2 separate regions of the Homo sapiens genome follow, and region 1 is linked to region 2. Evidence: promoter capture Hi-C in human tissues and cell types (Jung and others, 2019). All regions are on one chromosome and are shown on one strand. The core of a region is centred on a gene start or on the middle of the fragment in contact, and the rest is flanking DNA. Distances in the headings are between cores, read along the strand shown. Region 1 overlaps TFCP2L1 (transcription factor CP2 like 1). Region 2 holds the start of TFCP2L1 (transcription factor CP2 like 1).

Region 1 (6,475 bases), core at 400-2,899, 48 kb after region 2:
AAGAAAGCGAGATTGTCTGTGAACTTGATTTTACCAAGGAGTCCCCAGGGAAGCGGGGGTAGACACAGAAATGGTGTCATGTTTAGATTCAGGCAGACCTAGTCTTCAATCTGTACCTTTTTGGGGGTAACTCCCTTAACCTCCCTGAGACTCAGTTTCTCTACTACAAAAGGGGGTTAAGAATTCTACACAGGGTCGGGAGGAACAAGTGTACGATGCTTGCACCCTGTAGACACTTGGCGAGAAGTGGCGGCTGTCTTCACTGATGACCGGTCTGGGGATCAGCCCTGCGAGGGTCTCTTTTTCCCATTATGGAGAAATATACATAACACAAAATTTACCATTTTTAAGTGTGCAGTCTGGTGGCATTAAGTACATTCACACTGTTGTGCAGCGTTCACCGCCGTCCACCTGGAGAGCGCTCAGGTCTGTGCCTCATCCCCAACCTGGCCCCCGAGGAAGCTTGTGCACCCCCTCTCGGGAGAGAACAGAACAGTGCTTTTCCTCGTGGATGGATGTCAAGCTGCGGGTGCTTGTTCACTGCAAAATAACTCCCCGTGGGATTCTTATGCCCTCTCCCCTCACCACCTGACAAAGGGTTTGGTGGAGGACCCTTGAGTTTGGTGGTAGCCTTCAGGTGCCAAGGCTCTGGGTGCCCTTGGTCAGCGTGCCTTTCCCTGGGGCTGGGGCTTTGAATCTCCAAGTTCAAGACCAGCAGGGGTCAGCCAGCAGGGGCCTGGGATGTGTTGCCGGTGACTCAGGGTAGAGGAGTGTCATTGACTGGGGCAGTGTAGCCTATCAGAACTTGCTGTCTACAATGAAGGCTCAGTTAGGGATTTTGAGGGATTGGACATTGGCTCCTGCTGTGTTTCTGTGACTCAGGAAATTCTTGAGGACTCATTTCACTTAGAACAAATCCTGCATCTGATAGGAAGTAAAAGTGCCAGGCTGGGTGCCGGGACCGTGGCCATTGCCCTGGGAGCCCCCTCTGTCCTCATCACTGGTTCCTTTTCCTTGCAGCAACGCCTCTCCGACCCACCCGGTGGAGGCCCTGCCCGTGGGCAGTGACGTAAGTGTCTGAGCAGGGCTTTCTGGCTGGTGGTCCCTCGTGGGCCCTGAGCCACCATCTCAAGGCCTCTCCCCTCTGCTCACAGCACCTGCTCCCATCAGCTTCGATCCAGGATGCCCAGCAGTGGCTTCACCGCAACAGGTTCTCGCAGTTCTGCCGGCTCTTTGCCAGCTTCTCAGGTGAGCATCTCCGAACTGTGTTTAAAGCCCATGAGTATCTTGGAGACACTTCAAGGCTGGCCACCTTCCAGGCCTTGCTGTCAACACTGGCAGCGCTGTCGTTTCAGCTGGGAGACCCGAGATAGTGTGGGTTCGCTCGCTCACGTGCCCCAACCCTGGGCCAAGTGCTGGACATAGGTGATGCTGCCCCCAGAAGGTCCCAAGTGAGTGTGACTTGAGGGGGACCATCTGGGTGACTTGGTCAAGATCTCCTCACCTGCGGGGGGTTGGTGGGCTCTGGTCTGTCCAGGAAGAGTCCCCTTAGCCCGGCAGGGTGATGCAGGGCCCCTTATGCTTTTCCTACCCAAATACTGCTCCTCACATTGGCTCCAGAGCCACGACCTGGGAGCTGGAGGTGAGGCCACAGGTGAGACAGAAAGGGGGCTCTTCCTTCTTTAGAAAGTGTCAGAGCCCTTCCTGATGGGCCCTCAGACAGAAGTCCCAAGCTAGGTATTGTGGAGTGCAAAGGTGAACTGAGCAGTGAGCCTTGTCACCAAGTAGAGTTCATCCACAGTGACAGAGTAAAGGCTTGGCCACAACTAGAGGAGCGGATGCCACAGACACCTGTGGCAGTGGAAGAGAAACGACGCCCGCACATCCTCAGCTCGGCATTGCTGAGAGCCTGTTGGGGGAGGGTCCCTGTCCTTGGGAGCTTGTAGCTGTAAGTCAGTACAGATGCATAAACCACTCATTTCGGTGCAGCGTGACTTGTGTGATTGGAGTGGGGGTTCAGAGAGGACCCTGCACTGGACTGGGTGGAGGTGGGGGAGGAGTGCCGGCTGTGTCTTAAGTAGGGCAGTCAGCCACCATGTGGGCACCTGCCTTATGTGGTCACAGAGCAGGGGACCCAGGTGGAGTGGAGTGGAGTGGCCCGGGGAGGAGAGGTCAGAGAGGCACCAAGGGACACGGACAGGATGGGGGCCCTGGAAGAACAGTGGAAGGACTTCGGCTTTTACTCCCAGTGGAAAGGAAGCCATTGTGTCTATAGAATTGTACCTAAAACCGTATCTTATTGTGATGAGAGGAGAGGAGTGGGAATTGTGGCCTTGGGCAGGCTTTCACCTGAGGCTGATATACTAGTACCTTGGAGAGTGTGTGGGACCAGGCTCTCGGGGACCCCTTGGGCTTTGAGGAAGGGGCAGCCCTCACGCTGTGCTCACTTCTGTCCCCATGAGACGGTCACCTTCCTATGTTCCTTTAACTGTGGGCCCGTCCTCACATGCTGCTGGTGGGACCATACATAGATGCAACACTCTGGGAAACTGCTGGCAGTATCTGCTAGAGCCAAACACACCCTGTGATCCCGCAGCCCTCTCCGGGGCTAGACCCGGCAGACACGCACCTTGTGTAATGAACAAAGACATGTATGAGAACGTTCAGAGAGCCTATTCATAACAGCCCAGACCTGAAGCCCCCCCAGCGCCCATCCACATAAAGTGGGTATGTGAATTGTGGTGTAGTCACACAATGATAGGTAATAACGGGCATGAACACTCTGACTACATTCCACACAAATGCACCGTGAAACATGACTTGCGGGGAGGGAAGCCAGACCAGGAAGAGTGCCTACCGTTCAATTCCATGTACAGAAACTTCAGAGAACATGCAAAACGTGTCTGCACTGTAGCAAGTCAGGATAGTGGCTCCCCTGGGTGGGAGTAGGGGTGGTGGCTGGTACGAGGGGCCTACAGGAGGCTGGCAATGTTTCACTGCTGGCTCTGAGTGCTGGGTCCTGGGGTGTATTCAGATTGTCAGCATCCAGCGAGCTGTATACTTCCACATACAGACAGATGCACACATGGCCAGTGCCCTGTGCTGATGACATCTATGCATACAGATTATATGTCAAAAAAAAAAGAGAAGAGGCCAGATGCAGTGACTCATGTCTGTAATCCCAGTACTTTGAGAGGCTGAGGTAGGTGGATTGCTTGAGCCCAGGAGTTCAAGACCAGCCAGGCTAGGCAATATATTGAGACCTTGTCTCTTAAAAAAAAAAAAAAAAAAAAAAAGAAAGAAAGAAAGCAAGCAGGGCAGGCAATGAGGCAGTGGGGACCTATTGGCTTCTGTTGTACTCACTGTTGTGAGCACTGGCACTTCCTGGGCTGCAATCTTTTGATGTTGTTGAGCATTTTGCCATTTTCTCTCTGTGAGATAGTGCAGCTGGCTCTTCCCCACCCCCCACCCCCAGTGCTATGGGGTCTGCAGCTGGTTGGGGACCGAGCCCTTTCTCTGGGTTCCATGTAACAGGCATCCCCGTTTTTTTCCTGCCTAGGTGCTGACTTGCTGAAGATGTCCCGAGATGATTTGGTCCAGATCTGTGGTCCCGCAGATGGGATCCGGCTCTTCAACGCCATCAAAGGCCGGTAGGTGTTGGTTTCTCTGTGAAGCCAGCCAGAGGCTCATGTCCCGTGGCATGTGGTGGGAAACCCCTACCTCAGCCTTTTGGATGGTGGGTGGTCTGGCTGGGGGGACAGGACTCCTGCAGTGTGGGGTCAAGTGTAGGAGGAAATGTGGCAAGAGGGGCACGGGCCACAGCAGGGGAGTGAGACACTGCAGTGGGAGATGTGGCCAGCTGCCGCAGACCCTGCCTGGAGGCCCCTCCCTCTTCTTGGTTGGACGAGAGCCTTGGCCTCTGGATCTCGGCCTCTGAGCCACTTGCCCATGTTCTCAGATGCTTGTGTGGTCCTGGGCTCGGAGCTGCTCCCCCGCTGAGGGGAGCTGTGGACTTGGGGCTGGTCAGATGGTATCATGCAGCAGTTTCAGGGGAGACTCCAGAGCAGCGCCGTCCTGCACACCTTCCTGCCATGGCAGAGACGTTCTGCAGCCGTGCTGGCCACATGTGGCTGTGGAGCACTTGGACCGAGGCTGATGTGATGGACGAAATTTTTATTTAACTTTAGTGAATTTAAGTTTTAATAGCCACACATGGACAGCATGGTTTTAGAGTGAGAGCCTGGGTTTGAGTCCCAGATCTGCCTCTTAGGTGCTGTGCAGTGAAGGGAAAGCCCTTTGCCCTCCGAGCCTCAGTTTGCTCAACTGTGGAATGAGAGCGATAGTCCTAGCTCCCTTGCAAGTTTTGTGAGGATGAAATGAGTTACGCATGTTCTGAGAACAATACCTGATACACAGCAAGCCACAGACAGTGTTTGCTCTAATTGTTGCCTGAAAACGTCTTGTATGTTGAGCTTCATGGTCTGGGGCAGAGTGCCCCTTGGCAGGCTGCGGGACCTGGGAGGGTCATCCACCACCCCATGACAGGCACTCCACGTCACCACCGCTGTCTTTCTTCCTCCCTGAGTTCTGCCCACTATTGTTTCCATCCTGGAATATTCTGAAACAACTGCGCCTGGTCCACCACACCTATTATTTATTTTCTCTTCTCCTGCCAGGAATGTGAGGCCAAAGATGACCATTTATGTCTGTCAGGAGCTGGAGCAGAATCGAGTGCCCCTGCAGCAGAAGCGGGACGGCAGTGGAGACAGCAACCTGTCTGGTGAGTTGTGGGGAGCAGAGCTGGGACCCACACATTGGGTCCCGCAGCCTGGCTTTCAAGCCCGCAGTCTGGCCTCTGTTCATTTCCAGTGAATGTGCAGGACAGTCCTGGGCTCCCACATGCCCACACGTGGAAAGGGCAGCCTAGTGCATGCTCCTTGCATGGTGCATGGTCTGACCTCGTGGCGGCCCCGCAGTGTGGGTGCTGCCTTAGTGCACACCCCGAGGCTTGGGAAGGTGTTGGGATTGTCCCAGATCTTGCTTCCAGTCAGTGGCAGTCAGGATTGGAGGCAGGAATGCCCACCCTGGAGCTTTTTGTTTCCTCAAACTGCTCCTGATGCAGCTCCTGATGAGAGGAGACTCTCGAGGACCTCAGAGGCGTGGCTGTCAGCCTTCCTGCTCCCACCGAGCACTCCCAGTGGCCATGGTGAAAGGCGTCAGCCTGGGATCCTGCTAATTCTTTTTGCTGGCAGCTTGGTTTGTTTTAGGAGCAAAATTGTGGCTGGGTGTGGTGGTTCATACCTGTAATTCCAGCACCTGGGGAGGTGGGAGGATTGCTTGTGCCCAGGAGTTCAAGGCCAGCCTGGGGAATATACCAAGACCAAATCTCTAAATATTGAAAAAGTAGGCTGGGCGCCGTGGCTCATGCCTGTAATCCCAGCACTTTGGGAGGCCAAGGCGGGCAGATCACTTGAGGTCAGGAGTAACCCCATCTCTACTAAAGAAAACATACAAAAATTAGCCATGCATGGTCACACCTGTAATCCCAGCTGAGGCAGGAGAATCATTTGAACCCGGGAGGCGGAGGGAGGTGGAGGTTGCAGTGAGCCGAGATCATGCCACTGCACTCCAGCCTGGGTGACAAAGTGAGACTCTGTCTCAGGAAAAAAAAAGAAAAGTGCACACCCCCACACCTGGCTAATTCTTGTATGTTTTTGTAGAGATGGAGTCTCATTCTGTTGCCCAGGCTGGTCTGAAACTCCTGGACTCCAGAAATCCGCCTGCCTTGGCCACGCAGAGTGCTGGGATTATAGGCATGAGCTGCCACACCCACCTGTGTGTGCTTTTAAAATATTGGGCCTCTGATGAGGTTTGTTGAACCAAGGGTTTCTCAGGTGAGGGAAAGGCTTAAGAATCTTGAATTTAATCCAATTGCATTTGCTTTTGAGGAACTTGAGGTCCCTTGAAGTTGAGTAACCCACCCTGGGTTGCCGGTGGCATTTGCTCCTGCCTGGCTGGTGCAGGCCGTCTCTGTGTCAGTGTCACTGTTTTCTTCCCACTTGCTGACACCATGGTGCCCTCCTGGTGCTCTCTTCTCTCCTTAGGGTTACTGTGTTGAGGCTGAGTATGGTTTGTGTTGCGGGCAGGGGAAAGACCAGGCCTTCTCCTTTCTGTTGTCAAGTAATAGTTCCTTTTAACTTTCACTCATTGCCCTCCAGCTATCCAAGAACCCTTTAAACAGCAAAAAGAGCTGAAAAGGGACAGAATTTGTTGCTTCCTTCTGATGTGGGTTCACATCTGGCTGCATGTCAGAATTGCCTGATACTCCCTTCAGCCCATCTGGGTGTCACTGGGCTGGGGATGGGTCTAGGGATCTCTGCATTTCACATAAGCACCCCAAGAGAGACCGAGAGGAATCAAGAGTGGCAGCCTGGCTGGGTGCAGTGGCTCATCCCTGTAATCCCAGCACTTTGGG
Region 2 (5,627 bases), core at 2,808-5,307:
TTGGAGCACCAGCCTGGCCCTGAGCTCATATAGGATCCACTGAGGCCTCACAGCTTAACTCTGTCCTCTGCTCACTGCTTCCCTCGTTCAGCGCTGCTGATCCCAAGATAAACTGTGATAAACATGTGTGCACACGCTTTCCCTCTGGCTCAATTCCGCCCTCTACGTTGGCCATCCTTCAACTCCTATTCATGCCTCAAAACCATCTTCTCAGACGTGAATCCCCAGTATTCATCGTGATCTCTTTCGAGAGCAGCTGGGAATCCCTTGTGGGGCTGCTAAGGGGGTGACACCTGAGTACTCAGTGGGCCCCTTTCTGCTGCCTCTGCAGGGACCCCGGGCTGATCCTGGGAGCAGAGGACATCTGGTCACAGCACCTTTGCCCAGTGTGGGGTGAAGAAAGGAATGCCGGGCCTTAAGACAGGAATGGATGAGAGTCGGAGTATGGTTGTTGAATTTACAGGCCTGGCCTCAAATCCCAGCTGTGGCAGTCAGCCTCCCAAGCCTGTTTCTTCAATCAGAAGGTCAGGTGATGTCTCTTCTTCTCAGTGTCGGGAGATGACAGTGCATGGCTCTGGGTCTGGTGCATAGTAAAAATCAATGTTCCCACCACATGGGAACTGTGAACATTCACAGAATAAAAGAGGAACTGGCAGGCCATCTCCTGCACATCTGTCTCCTCCTCCTCAGCAGCCTGGAAGCCCCAGGGGTCCAGACTAGGCCTAATTGGGCCCTGTAACACCCAAGAGTCATGGGCAGAAATATGCATTTTTGTTCACACAGTGTGACTCAAATGCTGTCTCTGTAGGCATTGCTGAATTCTACCCTCCCATAGTTAAAAACCTACAAAGAGAGAGAAAGTAGGCAATGACCCAAAATACAGAGAGTCATACTTAGGTCATGAGAGCCATCATCCCTGAGAAGCTAAACTCACCTGAACCTAAGCTTCACCACAACCATGAAATGAGCCCTTATTATTCCCAATAGCAAAACCCAGATCCACAGGGCCCAGCGTATCATTTTTCCATTTGTATGAAACAAACCAGCCCACACCTCAGTGGCGTAAGGCCACAGCCATCCATTTGCTCTCGAGCCTGCATTTTGGGCAGGGCTTGGGTGGGCAGGGCTTGCCTCAGTTCTATGAGGTGTGGTTGGAGGCAATCCCCTGGGGCATCTTAGATGGGCTCTGCGGAGTGGCCAGAGGGATTGGAGGCTGACCAGGTCTCCCTCTCCAATGGGGCATTTGGACTCTACCTGGTGGCTCAGAGCTCTGGGAGAGTTAAGAGAAGCTGCCTATCATGCTTGTAATCCCAGCACTTTGGGAGGCTGAGGTGGGTGGATCACCTGAAGGTCAGGAGTTCTAGACCAGCCTGGCCAACATGGTGAAACCCCGTCTCTAATTGAAATATAAAAAATTAGCTGGGTGTGGTGGCAGGCACCTGTAATCCCAGCTACTCAGGAGGCAGAGGCAGGAATATCGCTTGAACCCAGGAGGCAGAGCTTGCGGTGAGCTGAGATCCTGCCATTGCACTCCAGTCTGGGCAACAAGAAACTTCGTCTCAAAAAAAAAAAAAAAAAAAAGAGAAGCTGCCTAGGGGCCAGCCCAGAAGGGAAAAGCATTACTTCCTCTGCATTCTATGGTTAAAGTAAGTCACAGGGTCAGCCCAGGCGGAAGGGGGAGGGGAGGGAAACAGACACCACCTCTTGATGGGAGAAGCAGCATGAGGTCAATTTACTCCACCCAAGGTCATAGATTCAGATGGAGCTAAGTAGTAAACCCAGGTCTGAACCATCTAATAATATTGACTGCCCTTCCTCCAGGCCTTTGCAGGAGCGTCTACTGGGCCGGAAACCTCCCTCCATCTCCACAGATTGGTTTCACTTCCACTCACCCATCCATCAGGAGATATCACTTCATGCTGGAGCCTCTTCGGAGCTCCAGAGTCCTCCTCTGTGTTCCCAGGGCAGCCTCTACGTCCCTGACCACACTGTACTGTCACTGCTGCTTACCCATGGACCTCTCCTGTTAGAACTCAAGGACGAGTCCAGCAAAGGACATGTTCTTTCCAGACCACCCCAGAGTGTCTCCCATTTAAACAATGGGTTTGTCATGGACCCTGATGGGGTGAGGTTGGTTGTGGGGGTCGGTGTTCAGGATGTTTCTTTGGAAGTTCCCTTAAGAGTAACCCCTGGGCAAGGAACTGGAAGGAAGCAGGAGGGAGACCCTGAGCAGGACACAGGTCTTGTGACAGCTTTGACTGTCTTCATGGGGAGTCCTGGGGCTAAAATACCCCATCAGCACTGTCCCCAGTCAGGCAGAGATGGCCAAGCTTTTATACTTCTGCTGGGATAGTCATTGGGATGTGGGCTATCCCAGGAGGGACATGACAGAGGGCAAGGCTGCTCTCTGAGCAGGGGCAGTTCCTGGAGAAGCCGATGGCTGGGGGACTGTCTGCTGACAGCACCACCTGAAGCCGGGGAAATATTCCCATTCTCCTAACAGGGCAGAACAGTGGGGGGCAGTCCTTGAGGGCTGCACAGAGGAAGTGGTTTGCCAGTTGTGACCTATGGCTGGAGGGAGGAGGGCAGGAACAGCAGAGTGAGGGAGGGTTTTACCCACATCCATGCGTGGGGGAGTGGGGAGTTCTGGACCAGGTCCCCAAGGGATGTCATTTGACTGGATTAATACTCAGGGACAGAATCCCCATCTCCTCTGTGCCAGGTGCTGTGCCATGTACTGGAGAACCGGATAGCACCTGGATAGGGGTCAGGGCTCCAGGGAACTCCACTCCCTCCTAATGGCCCTCCCCTCCACCCCATGACCCACTGTCTACACTGCTGCCAGACTGATCTTTCCAAAAGGCAAATCATACATGTGACTCCTCTGCTTAAAACACAGAATAAAATCCTAGCTCCTTGTCCTGGCCTGCCAGGCCCTCTGATCTTCCCCGCCCTCCTCACCTCATCTCCTAAGCTCTCCTCAAGACCAGCCATGCCAAGTAGGTCTTCCTCAAGGCTTTGGCAGTCACTGTTGCCAAGGGGGTAGGGAACTATGCCTGGAACTATTTTTCCCTAGGTGATGTTCACAGAGATGCTTCCTTTGCATCCATCAGGTCTCAGCTCAATGTCACCTCCTCCAGGAAGGCTTCTCTGATTACTCTTTTGGTGCATTCCTTTTTTCTTTTTTTATGTTTACTCAACAAACATTTATCTTAACTATGTCCCATGCACTGTTCTAGGCAGTGCAGGTAACGGGGTGTTAAGCGAGCCAGGCCCTGTCCTCTTGGAGCTTACAGTCTAATGGGAAAGACAATCAGTACACAAGTAAAAATAAAAAATAAAAAAATGTCGGCCTGACTCGGGGGCTCACGCCTGTAATGCCAGCACTTTGGGAGGCCAAGGTGGGCGGATCACCTGAGGTCAGGAGTTCGAGACCAGCCTGGCCAACATGGCGAAACCCCGTCTCTACTAACAATAAAAAAATCAGTCAGGCGTGATGGGGGGCGCTTGTAATCCCAGCTACTCAGGAGGCTGAGGTAGGAGAATTGCTTGAACCTGGGAGGAGAGGTTGCAGTGAGCCCCGAGATCGCGCCACTGCACTCCAGCCTGGGTGGCAGAGCGAGACCCCGTCTCAAAAAAAAAAAAACCAACAAAAAAACCCCCATGATTTCAGAGCGTCTGAAGTGCTATGAAAAAACAAGAGCGAGGAAAGGCGACAGAGAGGGCCTAGGCTGGAAATCTCGGAGCCGCTCTGGAGACCGGCCCTGGGCGTAGAGTGGGGAGCAGAGGCCAGAGGGGCCGTGTGGAGCGGGTTGGGGGCGGCAAGGGTCACCTGAGCCCCACATCGGAGTTTGGGGAGAGCACCCGGCCGGCCCTAGAGCCCTCTGGTCTGGCCGCCCCGGAGGCGCGCTCGCTCGCCGGAAAGGCACGCGCGGGAGTCAGCCAGGTGCGGCTGCCGCGGGGAGCCGCCCTCCGGGCCGCGCTTCCTGGGGGGCGGGTCTCACCGCTGTCCCGCCCCTGGGCCGCCGATAAATGCGCCGAGCCGGCCGGCACCGCGGGTTCGGAGCGCGAAGCCGCCGCTGGGTCCTCGGCGCGCCCCGCGTCTGCGCTTGCTGCCGCGCCCCGGTCGGCGCGCTGGGAGTTCCAGCCATGCTCTTCTGGCACACGCAGCCCGAGCACTACAACCAGCACAACTCCGGCAGCTACCTGCGGTAAGGGCCGCGCGCGGTCCCCGCGGGTCTCGGGCCGGGCCGGCGGGCCGGGCGCCGTTGGACGTCCAGGGGCGGAGAGGGGGCGCCCCTGCTGGGCCCTGGCCTCCCCGCTGTCCGCCCTCTGGGGACTGAGAGACCCGCCCAGCGTCCCGCCTAGGGACTGACAGATGGACGCCGGCGGGACCCGACGTGCGGAGTTGGGGGCCCGCTGGGGAGGCGAGCGCGCAGAGCCCTATGTCTGCGAGGGCTCCTCCCAGGCGGCAGAGAGGGTGCAGGGCGCGCACCTGCCGGCCCGCCGCCTCCCCTGGCCCGTCCGCCCCCTGCGGCCCTCCTCTCCCCCGCGTATCGGAGAAGCAGAGGAAACTTCCTGCCAGCAGCCTGGTGCCCGGCCCGGGGAAGTTCGTCCCCTGCTCTTTGCCCGTCTCCGCCGGGGCCCCTCTCCCAGCCTCGCGCCCTCTGCAGTGCCCTTCCTTGGACGAGGGGCGGGCGGCGGGCTCGGAGGGGCAGGCCGCCCCACTTCCCGCGATGGTCTTGCGCGTGTTCGCCCGAGGCCCGCGTGGTTATTGCCCTTGATGGAAATCTTTCTTCTGCTGGAGGGATTTGAGTAGTGCCCTTCAGAGGGGAAAGTAAGTCCTGCGTGTTTTGCACAGTTCCCCACAGGCCCCTCTTAGCAGTAGGACCCCGTGTGCTCTCGCTCCCGGAGGATTGTTTTTCCCTGTTCTGCTGCTGGCCGGGACTAATGGGCAGTCATTTCACTTTGTGAACTCGCCTGAACCAGCTTTAGCCTGTCCTTATTTCCATCTTAGTCACAGTTTATGAAATGTGCCTAATTTAACCCAAAGGGCATTTGATATGGGCTCAAGGAAAATGAATGATGAGGCCGAAGGAGTCACAGGCATTGACAGCCCCCATACTAGAGCTACCTTTAAGTGCTAGTTTTGGCCCCAAGAAGTTCCCACTTAGATCTTAAAACGTTATTTGTAATTCCTGGCTGCTGGTAGGTATTTGTCCTCCCTGAAGACATCCCCTTTTCCTGGAGGCGGGGGAATGATTGGGTTTAGTGGATGTATCTGCTGTTTTTATTCATGGGCCAAAGTAGTCGGAGATGGCAAAGGTCTAGAGCCTTAAAGGCTGACAGCCACCCGGCAGACCACGGTGATGTCACCAGAGGGAAGCCCAGGAGGAGATGTTAATCACCCAGAGATTAAGTGTCCATTCACTTGCAAGAAATGCTACAATGGAATACATTTTTACTGTACTGAAGTTTTAGTTGTAGCTTTGGCTAAGTTTTAGTTTGCTGCCATTAAGTATGTTGCCATATCTTAACAATGAGTTTGAAGGTGACCCTGAGTTGAAGGTGAGTGTACTTGAAACTTCCTAGATACCTACAATGTCCTCACCCCGTTAGGGAACAAT

What was found. The method cuts DNA at HindIII sites, captures the fragments that hold promoters and counts their contacts. A contact is called where the count stands out against the background at its distance.
Region 1: a fragment that was not itself captured here is called in contact with the fragment with the promoter of TFCP2L1 in region 2 in 1 of the 25 tissues and cell types used here (aorta).

Annotation. Positions count from the first base shown.
Region 1 is chr2:121,232,396-121,238,870 of GRCh38, reverse strand. TFCP2L1 (transcription factor CP2 like 1) reads left to right here. Exons shown (of 15, transcript NM_014553.3): 9 at 1,021-1,069; 10 at 1,155-1,248; 11 at 3,560-3,650; 12 at 4,677-4,780. Among named protein-coding and RNA genes, the nearest start is that of TFCP2L1, 50 kb to the left of the region's middle. The HindIII fragment of the contact is 6,690 bases long and covers 1-4,994 here.
Region 2 is chr2:121,283,632-121,289,258 of GRCh38, reverse strand. It overlaps TFCP2L1 (transcription factor CP2 like 1), which reads left to right and starts at 4,057. Exons shown (of 15, transcript NM_014553.3): 1 at 4,057-4,211. The coding sequence starts at 4,150. RefSeq lists a silencer at 3,892-4,031. The HindIII fragment of the contact is 14,413 bases long and covers 1,639-5,627 here.